Regions from separate parts of the Homo sapiens genome. Here region 2 is linked to region 1. Evidence: promoter capture Hi-C in 16 types of primary human blood cells and fetal thymus (Javierre and others, 2016). All regions are on one chromosome and are shown on one strand. The core of a region is centred on a gene start or on the middle of the fragment in contact, and the rest is flanking DNA. Distances in the headings are between cores, read along the strand shown.

Region 1 (4,076 bases), core at 817-3,316:
CCCTTCTTTTATTGGCAAGAACAGGGCTCCTATTTGTTATAGCCAGCACTCCTAATTTACTCTTGTTCCACGGAAATACTCAGGCCCCTATTTTTCCATTGTTTCATGGCAGTAACCAGACAACAACTAAGCCCTCTATTTCCCTTTGTTCTGTCGCCCAGGCTGGAGTGCTTGGTGTGATCTCAGCTCACTGCAGCCTCGACCTCTCTTGGGCTCAGGTGATCCTCCCACCTCAGCCTCCAGAGTAGCTGGGACTACAGATGTGGGCCACCATGTCTGGCTAATTTTTGTATTTTCTGTGGAAACGGGGTTTCACCATGTTGCCCAGGCTGGTCTGGAACTCCTGGGCTGAAGCAATCCTCCTAGCCTCAGCCTCCCAGGTGTCAGCCACTATGCTCTGCCCCTATTCCATGCTGTAACCAAGCTCCCTGTCTCCCTTTATACATGTACCTTACCAGAATCATATTTTTTTCCTGATTCCATGTCCACAGAGTCAGAAATCAGCATTTTGCTGACACAAGCTAAGGAACGCCAGTGTGACCTGTTAGGCGCCTCACATCTCTTTCTGTGGCATAGTCAGGGTCTATGTTTTCCTTTTCTTCAATTAAAATTGCCAGTGACTCATTTTCCTCTTTATGGACACAACCAACTCCCATATTTCTTAAGCAGATTTATTGTTTATGCTTTGAGCCCCACATCCATGGGGTTTCTAATATGGCCCACCCAATGTTATTTTTCCTCTCTATGGGCCTCAGCCTGATGGGGGTATCCCAGGTGTCTGGGGCATGCTGAGACGGCACAGGTCTGTGTGGCTTCCCGGATTACTCGGAATCCTTCATTATCTATTCTACAGCAAGTGGCCCTCGGCAGCTCAGGCTCAGGGAATTTCAAATGTATCACCTCCACCGGCTGGACAAGTCCTCTCAAGACAGGCTCTGGGGCCAAGGGAGGATGTTGTGACTGGTGCTAGCAACATTGTCATGATGGAAGGTGGCCTGGCTTCCGGGACATGACAGGCCATGGGTGAAGTGTGGGTTCAGAGTCACAGAAGAATCACGAAGAAGACATTCTTATGCACCTGACACCTGACTTGGGAGCAGGTTCTTTGCCTACATCCAGTTAGTCTCTACCACAATTCAAGTGGAGTCTTTCTCCCCATTCTCATATTACAGGTGAAGAAACCCAGCTTAGGGAGATGAGGTAACTCTCCCAGAGTCCCCAGCGAAGGACTTGAGCCAGGACAGTTGGATCCTAAGTCTCCTGCTTCCCCTCCCTCAGCACGCTACTCCTCACAGAACAACGCTTTATTTAGTTTTGGACATTTTAACCTTTATTTTGGAATAATTTCAGACTTACACAAAGGCTGCAAAAATAGCATAAAGCATTCTCGTATACCCTTCATTCCACTTCCCCAAATGTTAACATATTATACAATCACAGTACAACGGTGAAAACTAGAATATCAACATTCACACAATACTATTAACTAATCTGCAGATTTTATTCACATTTCATCAACTATTCCACTAATGTTTTTTTCTGGTAGGATTCCATTTAAGGTGTTTTTTTTTGTTTGTTTTTTGTTTTTTTTCTGAGACACAGTCTCGCTCTGTCACCTAGGCTGGAGTGCAGCGGCACCCTCCCGGCTCACTTCAGCCTCCACCTCCTGGGTTCAAGTGATTCTCCTGCCTCAGCCTCCCAAGTAACTGGGACTACAGGTACACACCACCACACCCAGCTAATTTTGTATTTTTAGTAGAGATGGGGTTTCACCATGTTGGCCAGGCTGGTCTCGAACTCCTGATCTCTGGTGATTCACCCACCTCAGCCTCCCAAAGTGCTGGGATTACAGGCGTGAGCCACCGCGCCCAGCCAGCAAATGTTTTTAAAATAGGGCATTCATGGGCTTTTGGGGGTAAGTGACACCTAATCTTCAGGGGTCTGCGGATAATTTCTAAATGGGGCTCACAGTTTATTCCTCCCTCATAGGGAGGCTGCAATTACCTCACAAAGCTCCACTAGGGTCACAACAAGATAGCAAAAGCCAGTGCAGGGCCTGCAGGTATAGGGGGATCCTGCAAGCAGAAATCTGTGGTGGGCGGGCGGCAGGTGAGCAAGGAGAACGTGTCTGTAAAGGAAGCACAGGGAACAGGTGGTGGCTTTGTAAGACAGTTGGAACCCAAGGAAGGTAAGAATAATGTACCACTCCTTGCTCCATATGACTGCTTCCTTATATCTCAGTTCAGATATTACCTTCTCCGTAAGGCCGCCTCCCTTCCTGTAAGTGATGCTTCTCTATCTACAACCCCAGCTCTTATTGCAGAGCACTGTAGGGGCTGTTCTGGGGCTTTTCTTCCCTGAGACATGTGAAGGCAGGGAGAGGGGCTTGCACGCCTTAGCAGGTGTTTAAAAATTTTGCTTGCCTGGATCACCAAAGAACTGAATGGGTGGTGTAAATGGGTAGAAAATGAACTGGCTGGAAACTGAGTGACAAGGTTCAGGTCTGAATCTCTGTTTAAATGCAGGCAGGCCATCCCCCAGGAAAGCCTATGTTGGTGAGGGTTATGATGGGAGAATGAGTGAACTGCAGCCTGGCACCACCACACCCTGGAAGGTGCAGTTGGGAAGAAAGTTTCTGAGGCTGTAGACATGGGGATCGGATGCTGGAGAAACCCCCTGCTGCTGCTGATTGCCCTGGTCCTGTCAGCCAAGCTGGGTCACTTCCAAAGGTGGGAGGGCTTCCAGCAGAAGCTCATGAGCAAGAAGAACATGAATTCAACACTCAACTTCTTCATTCAATCCTACAACAATGCCAGCAACGACACCTACTTATATCGAGTCCAGAGGCTAATTCGAAGTCAGATGCAGGTTTGTACCTTGCTCTCCCAAGACATCAGCAGGCCCTGTTCTTGCCAGTTCAGACATGTGAGGATTCTGGGGTAGCTCCCAAGAGAACCAAGTGGTGGTCCTCCGTGAGGTCCCAAGGGGGAAGCATCTTCACTTGTAGCAGGTACATTGTAGAGTTGTTCAGATCCCAGAATGTCCTTAGCCATGCTTCCAAAATGCTTTCCTAAGGACTGGCATGAACTCTAACTCCAATACACTTAGAGGCAAAAGTGTTCACTGAGGATTAAACTCTTTTTTTTTTTTTTTTTGAGATGGAGTTTCGCTCTTGTTGCCCACGCTGGAGTGCAATGGCATGATCTTGGCTCACTGCAACCTCCTCCTCCCAGGTTCAAGTGATTCTCCTGCCTCAGCCTCCCAAGTAGCTGAGATTACAGGTACGTACCACCACACCTGGCTAAATTTTTTGTATTTTTAGTAGAAACCGGTTTTCACCATGTTAGCCAAGCTGGTCTCGAACTCCTGACCTCAGGTGATCTGCCCACCTCGGCCTCCCAAAGTGCCGGAGTTACAGGCGTGAGATACCACGCCCGGCCAGCTCTTTTTCCTTGGGAAGAAATGCCTTTCATTCTGATATTTGACCCTGCCGGAGTGACAGCAAGGATAATTTTGCTCCCTTTAAAGTTCTCATTTGGCAAAATACAAATATTCTCTGTAGGCCTGTAGCCCCCAATATTTTTTCAATGTGTAGGGTTGTAAAATTCAAAACTGGGTGTTCTGTGTTATACAAACTTCAAATTATACAGAGGGTTTATTCTGGAAGTGGAGAGGATGTGAGAGATAGGGTTCAGCCAGATCACCTCACCTTCTGTTTTACATATAAAATTTCTCTGAAATATATCAATTGAAGGATAATAGAAGAAAGAAAAGTTGTTAGGGAACCCCTTTTATTGGTACAACATTTCCTCAAGGTCAGATAATAAACTATACAGTCCCCTTGGTGTCCATGAGGAATTGGTTCCAGGACCCCTCAGGATGCCCACATCCATGGATTCTGAAGTCTTTTATGTAAAATGGAATAGTGTTTCCACATAACCTATGCACATCTTCCCACATATGGTAAATCATTTCTAGATTAATTATAATAAGTGGTACAGTGTAAATGCTATGTAGATAATTATTATACTGTACTGTTTAGGGAATAATTACAAGAAAAAATGTTCAGTATACAG
Region 2 (4,076 bases), core at 1,020-3,519, 110 kb before region 1:
TTAGCGTCTTCCTTACTACATAAACTTCCAGACCTCAAATCTCACCTTTTTTGGGTAAGGGTAAGCTATTTGTTGACATTTGCACAAACTTTTGCCTGGCAGAAAATTTTTAAATAATTTCTAAAGAATCATTCAAATAAAATGCCAGACCCAGGAAGAAAGAACAATTTCACTCACCAACAACAATAATGTCTCCCTCAGCCATCTATCCACACACGTCCAGGCACATCCCTTTTTGGTTTGGAACTGGTCAGGTGTGCACTGTGAAGGCATGACAAGTTGCTTCAGGAAAAGAACGATCAGGTGCACAGGCTGAGGCAGGCAGACAGGCTCTTATCTCTATCCCCAGTAGATCCATCACAGGGCATAAGAACAGCATAGCTCTTTGAGTAACTGGTTTCTGTGTAAGCAATATATGACATTTCACAGACATTAGGCTCCCTCTGGGAATTCTTCTTCTGCATGGCTCCTTTACAAAACGAGATCCTCTTCAAGACTGGTTGGTGCATCTTGGTCAATAAGAAGAACATCAGCTCTATCATCATCTAACCCTTGAGGGTTTTCATTTAAATTATTGATTACTACCCACTATTGTAAAACAGCCTTACTATATCTTGAGTAAAATGCCACTTTTACAACCCTTGGTCTCTACTTTATATTTTTATTATGAGCTTTTCAGATCCTCCTGATATGGATTTAGCTTACAATGGTCAATGAAAAACAATCCAAACAACCAACACGTATGAATAAAGACAAAACAAAAAAATTTAGAACCCAGAAGTCATTTGGCTTTGACTCTGTCCAATGCCAGCTGAGTCCATTTTTCTTGTCCTATTTTCTCTGCTAAATGAGCCCCCAAAACTCGTTCCAGAGAAGTGAATAAAATGCATGACTCAGGATTCCCATCTCATTTATCTCCTGCCTCATGGAACCAGAAGCCCCTTTTGTCCTCCATCAATCCCTGTTTAAATAATATTCCCACCTGCAATAAACTCTTTCTTCAGTCTCCACCAAAGGGCCAGCCCGTTGCATGCACCAACCTTCACTGAGGGGTTCGGGGTCTGAGAAGTGACTGGCTTTGCCCTTCTATGCATGCTTGCTTTATTACTTAAGGTTATGACTTAATGCTACTTAATGAAAACCCTGGCTGGCGGGTCTGCAGAGCAATGCTTCAGAAAGGGCTCTGGATAGATAATCACCATTTGCCAGAGCCCCTCAGCATTCCCAGTGCCTCCTTTCTTTCTTTTTTTTTTTTTTTTTGAGATAGAGTGTCACTGTCGCCCAGGCTGGAGTGCAGTGGCATGATCATGGTTCACTGCAACCTCCACCTCCCAGATTCCAGCAATTTTCCTGCCTCAGCCTCCCAAGTAGATGGAATTACAGGTGTGCACCACCACGTCTGGCTAATTTTTGTATTTTTAGTAGAGATGGGGTTTCACCACGTTGGCCAAGCTGGTCTCAAACTCCTGACCTCAGGTGATCCACCCACCTTGGCCTCCCAAAGTGCTGGAATTATGGGCATGAGCCACTGTGCCTGGCTGGCCTTCTTTCCCTTCCCTGTTTGCTTTCCCACTCCCTACTGGTGCTCCCGAGCATCACCTGCAAAATGATCAAGGAGTTCATTCTTAGGTCAGGGAATCCATTCTGAGGTCAGGAAGTCCATTCTGAGTTCAGAAAGTTCATTCTGAGGTCAGAGAGTTCATTCCTAGGTCAGGGAGTCCATTCTTAGGTCGGGGAATCCATTCTGAGGTCAGGGAGTTCATTCTGAGTTCAGAGAGTTCATTCTGAGTTCAGAGAGTTCATTCTGAGGTCAGAGAGTCCATTCTGAGGTCAGGGAGTCCATTCTGAGGTCAGGGAGTTCATTCTGAGGTCGGGGAGTTCATTCTGAGGTCAAGGGTCCATTCTGATGGCAGAAAGTTCATTCTTAAGTAAAGAAGTTCATTCTGAGGTCAGGCAGTTCATTCCTAGGTCAGGAAGTTCCTGTTTAGGTTGGGGAGTCTATTATTAGGTCAGGGGATTCATGCTTGGGTCAGGAAGTTTATTCTTAGGTTGAAGAGTCTATTCTTAGGTTAGGGAATCCATTATTGCTTCGGGAGTTCATTCTCAGGTTGGAGGTTCATTCTTAGGTGGGGGATTTATTCTTAGGTCAGGGGGTCCATTCTGAGGTCAGAGAGTCTATTCTGAGGTCAGGGAATCCATTCTGAGGTCAGAAAGTTCATTCTTAGGCCCAGGAATTCATTCTGAGGTCAGAGAGTTTATTCTAATGTTGGGGAGTCCATCCTGAGGTGGGGGGGGGTCCTATTCTTAGGTCAGGGGGTCCATTCTGAGATCAGGAAGCTCTAACCTAAAACAGTCTTTAGCTGGAATCCCAGTGTGGCCACTTAGTAGCTGAGTGGTCTTGAGTAAGTCAGGACCTCCAGGTCCACATGATGATCCCACCAGGTAGGCTCATTCCCTGGGCAAATCTCACTACTCAGCACCTGCTCTGTAGCAGAGATCCTGAGAGTGCCCATGTGTGGTGGGTGCTCAGTGTCCTCTTCAGATTCTGCTCCAAGGCCAGGGTACCCCTTCCACACTGGTGGCTGAGCGCCTTCTGCATCCTCACCAAACCCCCCGCTGGTCTAATGAGCAGCCTATGGAAGGGACACGGGGAACCCTTGCTTCAACTCTGCAGGTTTCCAAAGCTCCAAGCTCCCCAGGGGCCAGTGGAGGCCTCTGTTGCAGCAGCATCAAAGCCCCACTGCTCTCTTACCCTTCCCAGGTGGGACTCCCAAGATCCCCTCCCCAACGAACCCCTACATGCAAATCTCCATCTCAGGGTCTGTTTCTAGGGGACTCAACCTGAGACGTACTTCATAATGTTGCTGCAATCATCTAGGACAGAATAATCATAAATAGCAAAGCTCTGAAAAATGTTAAAACGTAAGTAGTAGCAGTAGTAGCAGCAGCAGCAGCAGCAGCAGCAGCAGCAGTAGTAGTAGCAGCAGTAGTAGTAGTAGTATTTTGTTATTGTCAACATTCTCATCATGAGGGTCTTATGGCCTGGACTCTGGCCTGTGGGTCTCAACCCTCCCATGGCCTCCTGCAACCATCTCTCCCCTACCCCTCCATAGCACATAGCCTTATAGATTAAAATGTTCCTAATGGCCCCCAAACTGGTTGTGGCTCCCCCAGTGCTTGGGGGATTTCAGAGGGGCTGGGTAACAGTTTGGCTTCTGCAGCCATTTCTGAATTTCACTTTTGGTTTGTTCATGCTGTGCTGATGCTTCAAGAGTTGACCACAAAGTAGCCACCAGTCACCAAAGTGGCACAGGCTGGCCTGAGGGTCATGAGCCGACCCACTGGGCCATGAGTAACAGAGGCAAGCTGGCTACTTGGCTTCCCCTCACATTTCAAACCCGTTAAGCCAGGCAGGGGTGTGGGCACGCTGAAAGAACGTTCTTGTTCTCAATCTCTTTTAACTGGTGATGCCAAGAAGAAACTTAAAAAAAAAAAAAAAACTGACCAGGCGCAGTGGCTCAAGCCTGTAATCCCAGCACTTTGGGAGGCTGAGGCGGGTGGATCACTTGAGGTCAGGAGTTCGAGACCAGCCTGGCCAACATGGTGAAACCCCGTCTCTACTAAAAATACAAAAATTACCTGGGCATGGTGGCAGGCGCCTGTACTCCCAGCTACTCAGGAGGCTGAGGCAGGAGAATCACTTGAACCCGGGAGGTGGAGGTTGCAGTGAGCCGAGATCATGCCACTGCACTCCAGCCTGGGCGACAAGAAAAAGACTCTGTCATAAATAAACAAATATATAAATAAATTAATAAAATAAAATAAAATAAAATAAAACTGAGTTGGGCCAATGTGCAGCTTGAGGCAGTATTTCTCTGAGCCCTTTGTTCTCTAAGGATAAATCTTCCGAAGAGCGGCCCTCACATGGGTGGTCCAGATGAGGCAGAAGAATAGGGTCTGGAGGCAGGGAACCTAAGGCCATTTCAAGCTGACTTCCTAGTACTAAATTCAAAGTAAAGCCCTAACTTTCCACACCTTAGTAACAAAAAGATCAGAAATCACTCCCTTTGCAAACC

What was found. The method cuts DNA at HindIII sites, captures the fragments that hold promoters and counts their contacts. A CHiCAGO score of 5 or more calls a contact.
Region 2: a fragment that was not itself captured here is called in contact with the fragment with the promoter of CSTL1 in region 1 in 6 of 17 cell types (activated CD4 T cells, naive CD4 T cells, total B cells and 3 more); the score reaches 7.3 in activated CD4 T cells.

The regions. Positions count from the first base shown.
Region 1 is chr20:23,437,619-23,441,694 of GRCh38, forward strand. It overlaps CSTL1 (cystatin like 1), which reads left to right and starts at 2,067. Exons shown (of 4, transcript NM_138283.1): 1 at 2,067-2,188; 2 at 2,526-2,868. The coding sequence starts at 2,650. The HindIII fragment of the contact is 9,312 bases long and covers 1-4,076 here.
Region 2 is chr20:23,332,390-23,336,465 of GRCh38, forward strand. All of the region lies in intron 1 of NXT1-AS1 (NXT1 antisense RNA 1), which reads right to left. It overlaps LOC105372571 (a long non-coding RNA gene), which reads right to left and starts at 3,478. Exons shown (of 3, transcript XR_937379.3): 1 at 178-3,478. The HindIII fragment of the contact is 7,152 bases long and covers 1-4,076 here.